2 separate regions of the Homo sapiens genome follow, and region 2 is linked to region 1. The links are contacts of gene promoters, found by promoter capture Hi-C in human tissues and cell types (Jung and others, 2019). All regions are on one chromosome and are shown on one strand. The core of a region is centred on a gene start or on the middle of the fragment in contact, and the rest is flanking DNA. Distances in the headings are between cores, read along the strand shown. Region 1 holds the start of KIF2C (kinesin family member 2C). Region 2 overlaps EIF2B3 (eukaryotic translation initiation factor 2B subunit gamma).

Region 1 (7,499 bases), core at 2,856-5,355:
ATTCTCCTGCCTCAGCCTCCCAAAGTGCTGGGATTACAGGTGTGAATCACCACAGCTGGCCCACCTTCTTTTTTTTTTTTTTGAAACAGGGTCTCATTCTGTTCCCCAGGCTCAAGCGCAGCTGCACGATCATAGCACACTGCGGCCTCGAACTCCCCAGGCCCAGGTGATCCTCCCACCTCAGCCTCCTGAGTAGCCAGGACTACAGGCATGTGCCACCACACCCAGCTAATTTTTGTATTTTTTGCAGAGATGGGGGTCTCACTGTGTCACCCAGGGTGGTCTGGATCTACTGAGCTCAAGCAATCTGCCTGTCTTGGCCTCCCAAAGTGTTGGGATTACAGGTATGAGCCACTGCATCCAACTTAGTCCATTTTCTGTTGCTATAACAAAATACTGGAGACTGGGTAATTTATAATGAACATAAATTTATTTCATTCATGGTTCTGGAGGCTGAGAAGTCCAAGAGCATGGTGCTTGGATCTTGTGAGGGCCTTTTTGCTGCATTATAACATGGCAGAGAGCAATAACATAGTGACAGGGCAAGAGCGTGTCAGCTCAAGTCTCTCTTCTTCTTCTTATAAAGCTACCAATTCCATCACAGGGCCCCATCCTGATGACTTTATTAATCCTAATTACCTCCCAAAGGCCCCACCTCCAAATGCCATCAATATGTGAATTGGGGGATTAAGTTTCCAGCACATAAAATTTGGGGGACTCATTCAAACCACAGCATATCCCTAAACAATATTCCATCTATTCTTGTCTCTCTAGTCTGGTTCTCACCCTCAATAGTTCACCAAGACTGCACAAGGTCAGCAATGACTTAGGTGCTAATAAATCCAAAGGATACTAGAATGTCCTCATCTTATTTGGCCTCTTGAGTAGCTCTTCAGAGTTACTTTCACCTTCTTCATTCCATCCCTTGACTTCTAAGGAACTCCCCCCAACTCTTTTGTTTTCTTCATCCCTTCAAACCACCCTAATCCCATCTCCTTTGCTGGCTCCTCCTCCCCTGCCCTACCTCAAAATATTGGCAAGTCCCATGGCTCAATTATACATGTTCCTCTCATCTCCATCTATATTCTTTTCCTAGATAGTATTCAGCTCATGACTCCAAATACCATCTACATAATGCAGACTGCCAAATCTCAATCTCTTGCTTTGACCTCTACCTTAGCTCCCAGTTTGTATATCCAACTGCTCAGTTGACACCTACACTCAGATGTCTTGTAGACATCTCAAATTCAAAATGAACAAAATGAAACCCTGGACTTAACCCCCAACTCATTCCTTCACAATCCCACTTTCCCTTTTCAGGACATGGTCCATCATCCAGCCAGGTGCTCTAGCCAGAAACCAGGAGTCATCCATGACCACCCCTGTCATTCACATCCAACTCATCAGCAAAACCCATTCACTTCACTTCCCAAACATGGGGTATCTTGAATCAGTTCTTTCAGCCATACTTCCAATCCAGTATCACTACCCTGGCCTATGCCAGCATAATCTCTTGCCTACTAAGCGGTCTCTGCCTTCTGTCTTGCCCCTTTCAAATCTACTCTCCACACAATAGCAAGTTTGACTGACATAAAAGTAAAATGTAGGCTGGGCGCAGTGGCTCACACCTGTAATCCCAGCACTTTAGGAGGCCGAGGTGGGCGGATCACCTGAGGTCGGGAGTTCACGACCAGCCTGACCAACATGGTGAAACCCCGTCTCTACTAAAAATACAAAATTAGCCGGGCATGATGGTGCATCTCTGTAATCCCAGTTACTTTGGAGGCTGAGGCAGGAGAATTGCTTGAACCTGGGAGGCAGAGGTTGTGGTGAGCCGAGATCGCACCATTGCACTCCAGCCTGGGCAACAAGAGTGAAATTCTGTCTCAAAAAAAAAAAAAAAAAAAAGTAAAATGTAAATCAGATCATGTTAGTCCCCTGCTTAAAACTTTTCAATGACTTCTCATTAGCATAAAAGCCAAAATTATTACTACAGGCCACAAGATGCTCTATGATTTTGCCCCTCCCCACCTCTTCAACTTCTTCTGATGCTCCTCTCCCCCACTGCCTTCCAGTCATCAGTTCTTCAAACAAGACCTTTCCTGGCCAGGCACAGTGGTTCATGCCTGTAATACCAGCATTTTGGGAGGCTGAGGCAGGCAGATCGTCAAGAACAGGAGGCCGGGCTTGGTGGTTCACACATGTAATCCTAGCACTTTGGGAGGTTAAGGAGGGAGGATCTTTGAGCCCAGGAGTTCAAGACCAGCCTGGGCAACATAGCAAGACACTGTCTCTAATTAAAAAAAAAAAAAACCTCTCCCTTTCCCCCTCCCCCTCTCCCCGGTCTCCCTCTGATGCCAAGCCGAGGCTGAACTGTACTGCCGCCATCTCGACTCACTGCAGCCTCCCTGCCTGATTCTCCTGCCTCAGCCTGCCGAGTGCCTGGGATTGCAGGCGCGCGCCGCCGCACCTGACTGGTTTTCGTATTTTTTGGTGGAGATGGGGTTTCACCGTGCTGGCCGGGCTGGTCTCCAGCTCCTGACCGCGAGTGATCTGCCAGCCCTGGCCTCCCGAGGTGCCGGGATTGCAGACGGAGTCTCGCTCACTCAGTGCTCAATGTTGCCCAGGCTGGAGTGCGGTGGCGTGATCTCGGCTCGCTACAACCTCCACCTCCCAGCCGCCTGCCTTGGCCTCCCAAAGTGCCGAGATTGCAGCCTCTGCTCGGCCGCCACCCGGTCTAGGAAGTGAGGAGCGTCTCTTCCCGGCCGCCCATCGTCTGGGATGTGGGGAGCGCCTCTGCCCCGCCGCGACCCCGTCTGGGAACTGAGGAGTGTCTCTGCCCCGCCGCCACCCTGTCTGGGAGGTGAGGATCGTCTCTGACTGGCCGCCCCGTCTGAGAAGTGAGGAGCCACTCTGCCCGGCAGCCGCCCCGTCCGGGAGATGAGGAGCGTCTCCTCCCGGCAGCCGCCCCGTCCAGGAGGTGGGGGGAAAGCCCCCGACCGGCCAGCCGCCCCGTCTGGGAGGTGGGGGGCAGCCCCCTCCCAGCCGCCGCCCTGTCTGGGAGGTGGGGGGGGGGGGCGCCTCTGCCCGGCTGCCCCATTTGGGAAGTGAGGAGCCCCTCTGCCCCGCCGCCACCCCATCTGGGAGGTGTACCCAATAGCTCATTGAGAACGGGCCATGATGACGATGGCGGTTTTGTCGAATAGAAAAGGGGGAAATGTGGGGAAAAGAAAGAGAGATCAGATTGTTACTGTGTCTGTGTAGAAAGAAGTAGACATAGGAGACTCCATTTTGTTCTGTACTAAGAAAAATTCTTTTGCCTTGGGATGCTGTTAATCTATAACCTTACCCCCAACCCCGTGCTCTCTGAAACATGTGCTGTGTCCACTAAGGGTTAAATGGAAAAAAAAAAAAAGGAGGACAGGAACTATGTGTCTAGTTCATTATCTCCATTTCCTGGTACCATGCCTAGCAGGTGGTAGACTTCACTCAATAAATATCTGGTGAATCAGTGTCTTTCTGGAAATTTATACATAACTCCTTGAATGAGGCAACATGCTTCTGCACTATTTAATAAGAAAAACTAAGTCAAGTTTCTAATCTGTGGTTTTGTTTTGCTTTGAGAACAGGGTCTTGGCTATGTTGCCCTGTCTGGTCTCGAACTTCTGATCTCGAGCGATCACTCCCACCTCTCCCTTCCTAAGTGTTGGGATTAACAGGAGTGAGCCACCGCGCCCGGCCAAGTCTCCAACTTGCTCGAGGTCACTGAACTTGCAATTGAAGAAGCTACGATTCGAACCCATGTCTGTAGGATCCCAGAGCCCTCATTGTCAAATACATACTGAAGTTTCCCAGTTTTCGGGAACCCCGCAGTACAAGGTGACCGAGGACAATACCAGAAATGGGAGCCCCAGACCCCACGTAGCGGCGAAGTTCCCAGAAGGCACAGCGCTCGGGGGTGTGGCCAGACGCATGGGCGGTGCCAAGCGTAGGAAGATGGTTGGGAACTGCGTCTCCCCCAAGGCTCCGCAGGGCGCCGCTGACTGGCGGAAGCGAGGGCGGGGACAGCGGAATGACGTTTTAAGGACGCTTGCGCGCGGGATTTAAACTGCGGCGGTTTACGCGGCGTTAAGACTTCGTAGGGTTAGCGAAATTGAGGTTTCTTGGTATTGCGCGTTTCTCTTCCTTGCTGACTCTCCGAATGGCCATGGACTCGTCGCTTCAGGCCCGCCTGTTTCCCGGTCTCGCTATCAAGATCCAACGCAGTAATGGTGAGGAGCGGGGTCCCTAGGTCAAGGGGACTCGTGAGCGGTGAGACGACTGAAATTACTGCCCGTCCCCGGACACACAGATGGGCTTTCACTCTCTTTCTCTCCCTCCCTCCTTTTCACACGCACTCACTCCGGGTCTCTGCACTGGCAGTCATTCTTGCCTACACAGGGGTGAGAGTCCCTGCGCTGTACGTGGTCCCTTTCGCAGTCCTCTGGGAGTGGGCGGACCTTCTCCAAGGCTGGTAGACCTCCCAGGGAAGTTGGGACTTCTAAATTCACTTCCCTTCCAAAATTCTCCCCTGAAAATGCCCTGCTCTTATGGGGACCTCGGTCTCCTGGCCCCTTTACTCTCGAATAAATATTGCGCAGTTGCGGTATGTCAGGTAAACGGGACAGACAAGAACCCTGCGCTTGAGGAGCTTGTAGTCGTTCTCTCTTTTGCTTAAGCAGGTACCGCAGTTCTGGCAGGTCTGATACCCGTGTCATTAGGGAAATGGACAGATATGACCGCCAGAAATGAGTTAGGAAAACCCCAAAAGGGCCAGATCCTCAATGCTATGTTGAGGAAAAGTTCATCTAAGGGTTGTGGGGAATCCTGTGCTCAAACATACCTTTTGTATGTTCTCTTTTGTAGGCTCTATCTCTCTTTTTTTGTAGGCTCTCTTGAGTAGGGGTGAATCCTTATCCCATGCAGCTCAGTTTAAAAACCTGTCCCCAGCCCACCTCACTGTGGATATTCTAAAGGTGAAGCCCAGGAGATTTATTTGTTTCTCTTAGTTTTTTTTTTTTTTTTTTTTAAGGTAGCTGCCTGTTCCTTCAGGTTAACTCCACTTTGGGAATCTCTGTGGAATCCTAAAAGTGAAGCTCTCAGGAAAGAGATGGGTAACTCTGGTTTTTTCATACTTTATAGGTTTAATTCACAGTGCCAATGTAAGGACTGTGAACTTGGAGAAATCCTGTGTTTCAGTGGAATGGGCAGAAGGAGGTGCCACAAAGGGCAAAGAGGTAGGTTCTATGAGAATTCCTCTACCACATTTAATGTCTTCCTACATAAAGGATCTGTGCAGAAGTGGAATCTGTGAGAGCCTAGTTTCTGATGCTGTGCTCTTCTCACTCACGCCTGTAATCCCAGAACTTTGGGAGGCTGAGACGGGCAGATCACCTGATGTCAGGAGTTCGAGACCATCCTGGCCAACATGGCGAAACCTGTCTCTACTGAAAATACAAAAATTAGCCAGTCGTGGTAGTGCATGCCTGTAATCCCAACTACTTGGGAGCCTGAGGCAGGAGAACTGCTTGAACCTGGGAGGCGGAGGTTGCAGTGAGCCGAAACTGTGCCGCTGCACTCCAGCCTGGGTGACAGTGAGAATCTGTCTCAAAAAAAAAAAAAAAAAAAAATTGGCTGGGTGCGGTGGCTCTTGCCTCTAATCCCGACACTTTGAGAGGCCTGGTCTGGAGGATTGCTTGAGCTCAGGAGTTCGAGACCAGCCTGGGAAAAATGTTGAGACCTTGTCTCTACAAAAAAATTAAAAATTATCAGGGTGTGGTGGCTCACGCCTGTGGTTCCAGCTACTCGGGAAGCTGAGGTGGGAGGATTGATTTAGCCTGGGAGGTTGAGGCTGCACTGAACCATGATCGAGCCACTGCACTCTGGCCTGGGCGACAGAGTGAGACCTTTCCTCAAAAAATAAAAATGGTCTTCTTGGCTGGGCACAGTGGCTCACATGTATAATCCCAGCACTTTGGGAGGCCGAGGTGGGCAGATCGCTTTGAGCTCAGCAGTTCAAGACCAGGCTGGGCAACATGACAAAACCTCATTTCTACAAAAAATACAAAAAACATTAGCCGGGCATGGTGGTGCATGCCTGTGGTCCCAGCTGCTCTGGAGGCTGAGGCTGGAGAATTGCTGGAGTCTGGGAAAGCACAGGTTTCAGTGAGCTGAAATTGCACCACTGCTCTCCAGCCTCCTGGGCAACAGAATGAGGACTTGTCTCAAAAAAAAAAAAAAAAAAAAAAAGAATGGTCCCCTTCCAGATGCATTGGGATTTTATTTAGTCAGGTCCATTCTAAATTGAAGCAATCAATAATTTTCTGGGTTTTTTTTGTTTGTTTGTTTGTTTGTTTTGAGACAGAGTCTCACTCTGTCACCCAGGCTGGAGTGCAGTGGCGAGATCTCAGCTCACTGCAAGCTCCGCCTCCCGGGTTCACGTCATTCTCCTGCCTCAGCCTCCCGAGTAACTGGTACTACAGGTGCCCGCCACTACGCCCGGCTAATTTTTTGTATTTTTAGTAGAGATGGGGTTTCACTGTGTTAGCCGGGATGGTCTCGATCTCCTGACCTCGTGATCCGCCTGCCTCTGCCTCCCAAAGTGCTGGGATTACAGGCGTGAGCCACCATGCCCGGCTCTGGTATGTTTGTAGAAAGCAAACTGCAGCCAGGCGCAGTGGCTCATGCCTGTAATCCCAGCACTTTGGGAGGCCGAGGTGGGCGGATCACTTGAGATCAGGAGTTTGAGACCAGCCTGGCCAACATAGCGAAACCCCCATCTCTACTAAAAATACAAAAATTAGCTGGGTGTGGTGGCACGGGCCTGTAATCCCAGCTACTTGGGAAGCTGGGGCAGGAGGATCACATGAACCTGGGAGGCAGAGGTTGCAGTGAGCTGAGATCATGCCACTGCACTCCAGCCTGGGCAACAGAGTGAAACTTCGTCTCAAAAAAAAAAAAAAAAAAACAAACTGCACAGAATTTTAGGTTTTAGAAAACTTTGCTTGCCCAAGCTAGGTTCTGCATGCACACTACCTGTGATATCAGTTTGGTGAATGAAATCAATAACCTGGTTGAGGAGACAAAAAGACGTTTCTGAATCACCAACTAACCAACTAACAGAAGACAACTTGTGATGAATGGCACAGATGAGCATTGCTAGAGCAGCTCAGAGGTGGAAACTTGCTGAGAATGGGCTGGGCTTAGAGGGTGGAGTGTGAAGGCTTAGCTGAAGCAGCAAGATGGCACACATGGGGACCATGAAGAAGCTGGCCACGAGCAGTGCAGGGCCCAGGATGCTTGGCAGCCGCAAAACAGCTGAAAAAGGAGACAAAGGTCTTCATGTCTGGCACTGAGCTGGTTAGGTTTTCTTCTGTAGGCAGTGGGGAACCTTGGAAGGATTTTGAGGAGAGCACTGTGACTAAGACATTTCTGTTCTAGTGGCATTGTGGTGTAGTGAA
Region 2 (7,499 bases), core at 2,859-5,358, 210 kb after region 1:
ATAGAATCTGCAACAGAATCACCATTTCTTTTTCCACATGTAACTTGTTATTTATAGCCTGAACAATTTCTTTTGAAGGCCTTTTAAAGTTAAGCTCAAATTCGGATTGTTTCCTACTCTTCTGCTTAAGGCTCTCTAAATTCTTTTTAGATTTTAACTCTGAGACTAAAAAAAAAAAAAGTTCCCACTGGGCGCGGTGGCTCACACCTGTAATCCCAGCACTTTGGGAGGCCGAGGCGGGTGGATCACAACGTCAGGAGATCGAGACCATCCTGGCTACCATGGTGAAACCTCGTCTCTACTAAAAGTACAAAAAATCAGCAGGGCGTGGTGGCAGGCGCCTGTAGTCCCAGCTACTCGGGAGGCTGAGGCAGGAGAATGGCATGAACCCAGGGGGCGGAGCTTGCCGTGAGCCGAGATCGCGCCACTGCACTCCAGCCTGGGTAACAGCGCAAGACTCCGTCTCAAAAAAAAAAAAAAAGTTCCCATAAACATCTCTTTAGGAAAAAAAAAAACCCTACACCTGCAACTCACCATGCAGGAAGCAGCAAACGTGAACAAATCAGACCACATACATACAAACTAAAGAAACAGCCTGCAGAATCCTACTTAGAACAATGCTTAGAAAGACAAGGAGACAAATCATTACTAAAGACATTCACAGAGTTGTCATTACAACAGTACAGAAGTTGCCCCATTTCATCAGAATGAAAATGACAATTTGCTGAGGAAAAAAATCCCCTTTCTATTTTTCTAAGTTTCTCTAATAAGATGGCTGTTTTTTTGCAAGTTTACTGATCTACAATAAATTGAACTATTAAGTATACTCCAAAATCAAGAAAATGACTCCAATGCAGATGCCTCAGAAGTGGTAACAATGTTGTCTTGGCAAATAAATGCTGTTATCATTCGATATCTGCAAAAGTGTTTAAATCTGTCAGTACAGTGAATGCCAAACAAGTCCTGCATAATTGTGAACAGGCTGTAGGCTCATTTCTCTCTTTGCGTTTTGATGACTTTTTGCTAAACTGAATGCAAAATCCCCAAGGATCACAAGGAACAGACCCCTCCACTCAATGTCTGGTTGCCATCTGTTCTTAGTGTGAAAAGAAAGGCGTGGGTCTGAAAGAACAGGGCCTAGCATACAGACGGAGGTGCTGTTCCATCAGCCCCTCTCCTGCCTCTGTTCCCAGAGAATGCACCATGTAAGAGTCACTGAGACCAAACACATCTCATCCTCTGTGCAACTCCATCACTTCCAAAGGAAAGTGTTTGTTGTCTGATCAATTTCCAAAGCTGGAAATCTCAGAAGAAGAAAGAAAGGAAAGCTAAATCACACTTATACCTTCATAATACCTTTTTTTTTTTGAGACAGGGTCTCAGTCTGTTGCCCAGGCTGGAGTGCAGAGGTGTGATCATAGCTCACTGTAACCTCAAATTCTTGGACTCAAGCATCCTACCACCTCGGCTTCCTAAGTAGCTGGGACTACAGGCACCACATGCCACTATGTCCACTAATTTTAATTTCTTCTTCTTCTTCTTTTTTTTTTTTTTTTGTAGAGACGGGATCTCACTATGTTGCCAGGGCTGGTCTCAAACTCTTAGGCTCAAGTGATCTTCCTGTCTCAGCCTCCCAAAGTGCTGGAATTACAGGCATAAGCCACTGAGCCTGGCCTGATTTTATAAACGCTGTAACAGAAAGAAATGATCATTGTTTTTATTTTTATTCTAAAATGTAAAGCCCATTCTAGGAATGCAAATGGCTTTCTAGTAACTGGAGCCCAGAGAGAGAAAGTAGAAAAACTGATAAGACCCAGAGAAGTATTTTTGATCATGTGTGACCACAAGCCATGAATAAACATGGACTGTTTGGACTGTGAAGCAACTGTGTGTCAGAAATGCAGTTAATTTTAAAGTTCCCTGAACATGCCAACACTCAGCTGCCTTTGTTTCATGGACCCACTTCTTTTCTAATGCCAACAGTATGCCTCTTCTGCAGAGACCAACTGGCCTCTCCAAAGATCTCCCTACTCACTATTCCAACAGTCATTGGTATGCCTCATCCCAAGCCTGCTCCTCTAGAGAAGCCAGGGCAATGTCAAGGGCAGAAAGCACAACTCAGAAGGAAAGCAGATGTGTGCACTCTTGACAATATAGAAACATGCAAGGTTTCAAGGGAAGGCAGCACTTTAGTGTTTAAAGTGTCCAAAACACCCAGGAATTCAAAATCCAAACTGCTGCCAGTTAGTCTTGACTAAAGTAAACAAATTAAGCTCAGAAAACCCAATTACCAAGCCATGGCAAAGCCCAGAAATCTCTCATTACAAGAACATTTTCGATCAAGCCAAAACCACTGAGTAAAATTAGAGGGGAAAAAAGGTTAAATCAGAAAACCGGATGTGTGTGTGTGTGGCTGTAGTGGTGGGGCGGGAGGTGAGGAGAGCTACTGGGAATAGCCTCTTTTCTTTTCCTGGCAGCTGTTCCATGACAGATTGTTATAAATAACACAATCTGGCAACCGATTTCTTATGACAAGGAGAAAGAAAAACACATTTACTCCCTTGGAAAAAAACTGTCAGGGCAAGGTAACTACCATGCTTCTCTACTCACCCAGTGCTTCCACAAATAATGGCTATGATCCAAATCACCAGCCTGCATGCCACCCCTGCCCATATGGAACTCATGAATTCAGCTACTTGGTGTGACTATGAAGGTCACATTTTACATTTTCCTATGTGGTCCAATCCCAGTCAAATCCCCAAGAGTAGTTTGTGTGCTTTTTCTTTTCTTTTCTTTTTTTTTAGACAAGGGGTCTCCCTATATTGCCCAGGCTGGTCTCAAACTCCTGGACTCAAGCAATCCTCCTGCCTCAGCCTCCCAAAATGCTGGGATTACATGCATGAGCCACTGCACCTGGCATAGTTTGTGTGCTTGAATAAACACCAAAGGCTAACTGCAATGGAGACCTCAGTTTTGGTTTAAAATGCTTGGAAAAGATTCCAGTCTATAGTCCTCAAAGTGCAAGGCCAAGGGCCAACTGCCACATTGTTTTCACTGAGGTTGGGGCAGTAGCTCTAGGAAGGGAAATGACCAACTCAGTCAGTAAGTAAGAAATGTGATAATCCTTGGGCTCACAGCTAAATATCCTTACTATATTCCTTAGTTTAATCATGCTGTTGCTACCATCCAGAATCTGATGCCAGAAATCCGCCCATAGTCCAGGATGGAAGTCCTTCCTCTCCTGCCCTGTCCCCTACTCTTCCCCTATTGCACTGCCTTAGTTCAGGTCTCAAAATCTTCTTCCAGTCTCTTGGCTGGTGTCTCTCTTGCTCCAGTTTTCCCTTATTCTAATCCATACTCTAATTTCTACTGCATATGTCTTTTCCCTGCTCAAAGACACCCTAAAACAGTGTTTTCCAAACATCAAAAAAGTTGAACTTATTGCCACTTACCTTAAAATTTTTAAAAAAATATATAGATCACTATAATATGATATGCTCTTTATATAATATATATAAAGATAGACATTTAAAAAGGAATAAATAAAACATTTAAAAACAAGAAATTCTAACATTTTCCTCTGGTACTTAATTCTGTACACCACCTGGCTTTGAGTACAGCCTATTTTGGAGATTGCTGCTCAACAAGATTAAGTTGGAATTCCTTAGCATGATTTTAAGGGTCTTCAAAATATGACTCCACCTACCTAATTCAGTCTTCTCTCCCCCAACTCCCCTCCACATAGCCAATGTTAACTTTTTCTTTTCTTTTCTTTTCTTTTTTTTTGAGAAAGAGTCTCGCTCTATTGCCCAGGCTATTGCCCAGGCTGGAGTAAAATGGCACGATCACGGCTCACTGCAACCTCCGCCCCCCGAGGTTCAAGCAATTCTTGTGCCTCAGCCTCCCAAGTAGCTGGGATTACAGGTACATGCCACCATGCCCAGCTAATTTTTACATTTTTAGTACAGACAGTGTTTCGCCATGTTGGCCAGGCTAGTTCTCAAACTCCTGACCTCAAGTGATCCTCCTGCCTTGGCTTCCTCAGGTGCTGGGATTACAGGCATGAGCCACTGCACCTGGCCGCCAGTGTTAATTTGATAGAGTCGACTGCCAAGAATGTATACCCTAGTCTGTCTTCCTACTCTATTATATATTTATCCATCAAAATTCAGGTCTTGTCACAGTTACTAGAAAGGGCAGAGCCGATATATTATCTCCCCTAGAGATGATGCATTTTCTGATCCATTACAGACCTTAAATCACTAATTGGATTACATATATATTTTTTCCATCTAGACTTTGAGCTCCATAAGGAGCCCTTTTATCTTTGTATATTCAGAGTTCAACCTAGTGCTGGCAAACACGCATGAGTAAATGTTAGTACTTTTCCTGTTATCTCCTTCTCTTTGTTTAATTTGACTCAAATATTAAAACATCTGATTTTAAATGTTTAGAAACAGTATACATTCTGACAGAGGTGAATGCTCCCTTTGTAGAGACTGACTGTTCAGAGTTAGGACAGGGGCCACAGAGACAACTTTGCAGTTCCCTAATGCAAGAAGGTAGGAAATGAACCTGCTACTACCAAAGAAGCAAAAGGCAGAGATGTCTGAAAGGAAAGAAGTCAAAAGCAGCTGTCCTGGAGGGCACGGCTGAAGAATGATGATATGCTTGCTAGATTTACAACTTAAAATGAAGGCTCAACATTTATGGTTCTAATATTCATAATTCATTCACGTCCTCCAAGGAAATTTTCCTCTTCAGATTAAGAACAAATAGAGGAATTATATTCTTCCTTACTGTGTGAAGCTAGGAAAGAAGCACCTATATTAATTTTTAATTATGTTCAAATGAGTTCCCTATAAAAATGCCTGTCACGTCTCTTCTAGGATTTAGATATATGCAATTTAATTTTCATCTCTAAATGCACTGACTTGGAATAGAAAAAAACAAGAGATTTTTTTTGTTCTCCCAAATCAAACTTTCACTCTAAAGGGAAGTTCATAACAATGAGAAAAAATACAACTAATAAATCTTTTTAAAACTTAGGGTTGGCTGAGCACAATGGCTCATGCCTGTAACCCCAGCATTTTGGGAGGCCAAGGTGGGAGAACTGTTTGAGGCCAGGAGTTTGAAACCAGCCTGGGCAACATAGCGAGACCTTATCTCTACAAAAAATTTTAAAAATTAGCCAGGCATGGTGGTGCATGCCTGTAGTCCCAGCTACTTGAGAGGTTGAGGCAGGAGGATCATTTGAGCCCAGGTTTCAGGCTGCAGTAAGCTATGATTGTGCCATTGCACTCCAGCACCCGTGACAGAGTGAGATCGTGTTTCTAAAAAACAAACAAACAAAACAGAAAATTCAAGAAGTAACAATTTTAGCATGTTATTTAGAGACATACAGATAAAAAACAAAGTAGCTAAAAGAAGAGAACCTTTCGGGTTAGGGATATGGGGTGGGGGTGGTCAGGGGACTAATATTTTTAGGAACAAAGCTTGAACTATTGAATTATTTAAATTATTAAATTATTAATTTATTAAATGATATTGAATTATTTAAATGATATATACATATAACTTCAATAAGTATAAGGTGTTTATTTATTTATTTATTTTTTGAGACAAGAGTCTTGCTCTATCGCCCAGACTGGAGTGCAATGGTGCGATCTTGGCTCACTGCAACCTCCACCTCTGGGGTTCAAGCGATTCTTGTGCCTCAGCTTCCAGAGTAGCTAGGATTACAGGCATGTGTCACCACACCTGGCTGATTTTTGTATTTTCAGTAGAGACAGGATTATGCCATGTTGGCCAGGCTGGTTTCAAACTCCTAGCCTCAAGTGATCCACCCACCTTGGCCTCCCGAAGTGTTGGGATTACAGGCGTAAGCCACTGCACCTGACCAGTATGAGTTTTTTAAAAAAGACATTAGGACTATTTTCTTATCTCTGTTTTTTAAAAAAATTACTTCAGTGACTTTAACATCCTTATGGCTGAGACTCCATGACCTCATCACGTTCAATTATTTTTTTTCTCCTTCTCGCCTTAGTCACTCAACCACTTTGTTATACTCTACTCCTTGGCATTACCAAAAATTGCACCAACTCCAAAATCTCACTTTAAAATATCATATTAATTCATGTGACACACATATATTGAACCCTGAATATGGCCAGGCATTATAGAGATACAGCAATGAACAAACAAACAAAAATCCCTGACCTCAAAAAGCTTACATCCTATTGTCTGATCACCACCTTCTATTTTTCCAACTCACTGACTTTTTACTCTGGCTCCAGCAATTCTGATTCTAACAGGATCCTCAATCCATTTGTTACACTGATTTATAGCACCCTAATTCCTTTGGTGGTCTCGTTTACACAGCTTATGTGGTCCATCACTATAAATACTCCTTAATATACATCACTGTCTTCCTTACTACTCTCATCCCTTGTACTCACCAGGTAAAGATGCTAGTTATATCCTAACTCTCTGCCTACTTTGCATATGAACCCAAGAAGCTAAACATGGATAGAAAACTGGTAACAGCATTGGCTAGTCTCCTTTTAAACTGATAACCCAAATCTCAAGGGGATCCTTCACACTGTCCAGCAATACATTTCCTAGCCAATTAACTTTTACATTCTCAGAGATAATTTCATATATTCTCATCCTTCCTTAAAACTTCAGCAGCTTCTCCCTTCCTCTTTTTTTTTTTTTTGAGACGGGGTCTCGCTCTGTCACCCAGGCTGGAGTGCAGTGGCTCAATCTCAGCTCACTGCAGCCTCCGCTTCACAGGTTCAAGCAATTCTCCCACCTCAGCCTCCCGAGTAGCTGGGATTACAGGGGCGCACCACCATGCCTGGCTAATTTTTTTTTTTTTTTTTTTTTTTTTTGAGACGGAGTCTCGCTCTGTTGCCCAGGCTGGAGTGCAGTGGCGGGAACTCGGCTCACTGCAAGCTCCGCCTCCTGGGTTCACGCCATTCTCCTGCCTCAGCCTCCCAAGTAGCTGGGACTACAGGCGCCCGCCACTACGCCCGGCTAATTTTTTTGTATTTTTAGTAGAGACGGGGTTTCACCGTTTTAGCCAGGATGGTCTCGATCTCCTGACCTCGTGATCCGCCCGCCTCGGCCTCCCAAAGTGCTGGGATTACAGGCGTGAGCCACCGCGCCCGGCCCTAATTTTTGCATTTTTAGTAGAGATGGGGTTTCGCCATTTTGGCCAGGCTGGTCTTGAACTCCTGATCTCAGGTGATCCACCTGCCTCGGCCTCCCAAAGTGCTGGGATTACCAGCGTAAGCCACTGAGCCTGGCCCTACTGACTCTTAACTGGTGGCTTTACATCTTATTTCAATAAGAAAATACAAGCAATTAGAAGCAGCAAACATCTTTCTGACACAAAATTAATTAATCTATATGCATTACATATTATACATTCTGCCTGTACAATAAATTAAATGTCTTTTCTCCAATTTTTTTTTTTTTTTTGAGACAGAGCCTCA

The links. Contacts are between HindIII fragments. The study calls those that stand out against the background at their distance.
Region 2: a fragment that was not itself captured here is called in contact with the fragment with the promoter of KIF2C in region 1 in 1 of the 25 tissues and cell types used here (aorta).

Annotation. Positions count from the first base shown.
Region 1 is chr1:44,735,732-44,743,230 of GRCh38, forward strand. KIF2C (kinesin family member 2C) reads left to right here and starts at 4,106. Exons shown (of 21, transcript NM_006845.4): 1 at 4,106-4,271; 2 at 5,182-5,276. The coding sequence starts at 4,202. RefSeq lists an enhancer at 3,757-3,926. The HindIII fragment of the contact is 13,379 bases long and covers 1-7,499 here.
Region 2 is chr1:44,945,088-44,952,586 of GRCh38, forward strand. The region is part of intron 3 of EIF2B3 (eukaryotic translation initiation factor 2B subunit gamma); the gene reads right to left. Among named protein-coding and RNA genes, the nearest start is that of EIF2B3, 38 kb to the right of the region's middle. The HindIII fragment of the contact is 3,505 bases long and covers 2,357-5,861 here.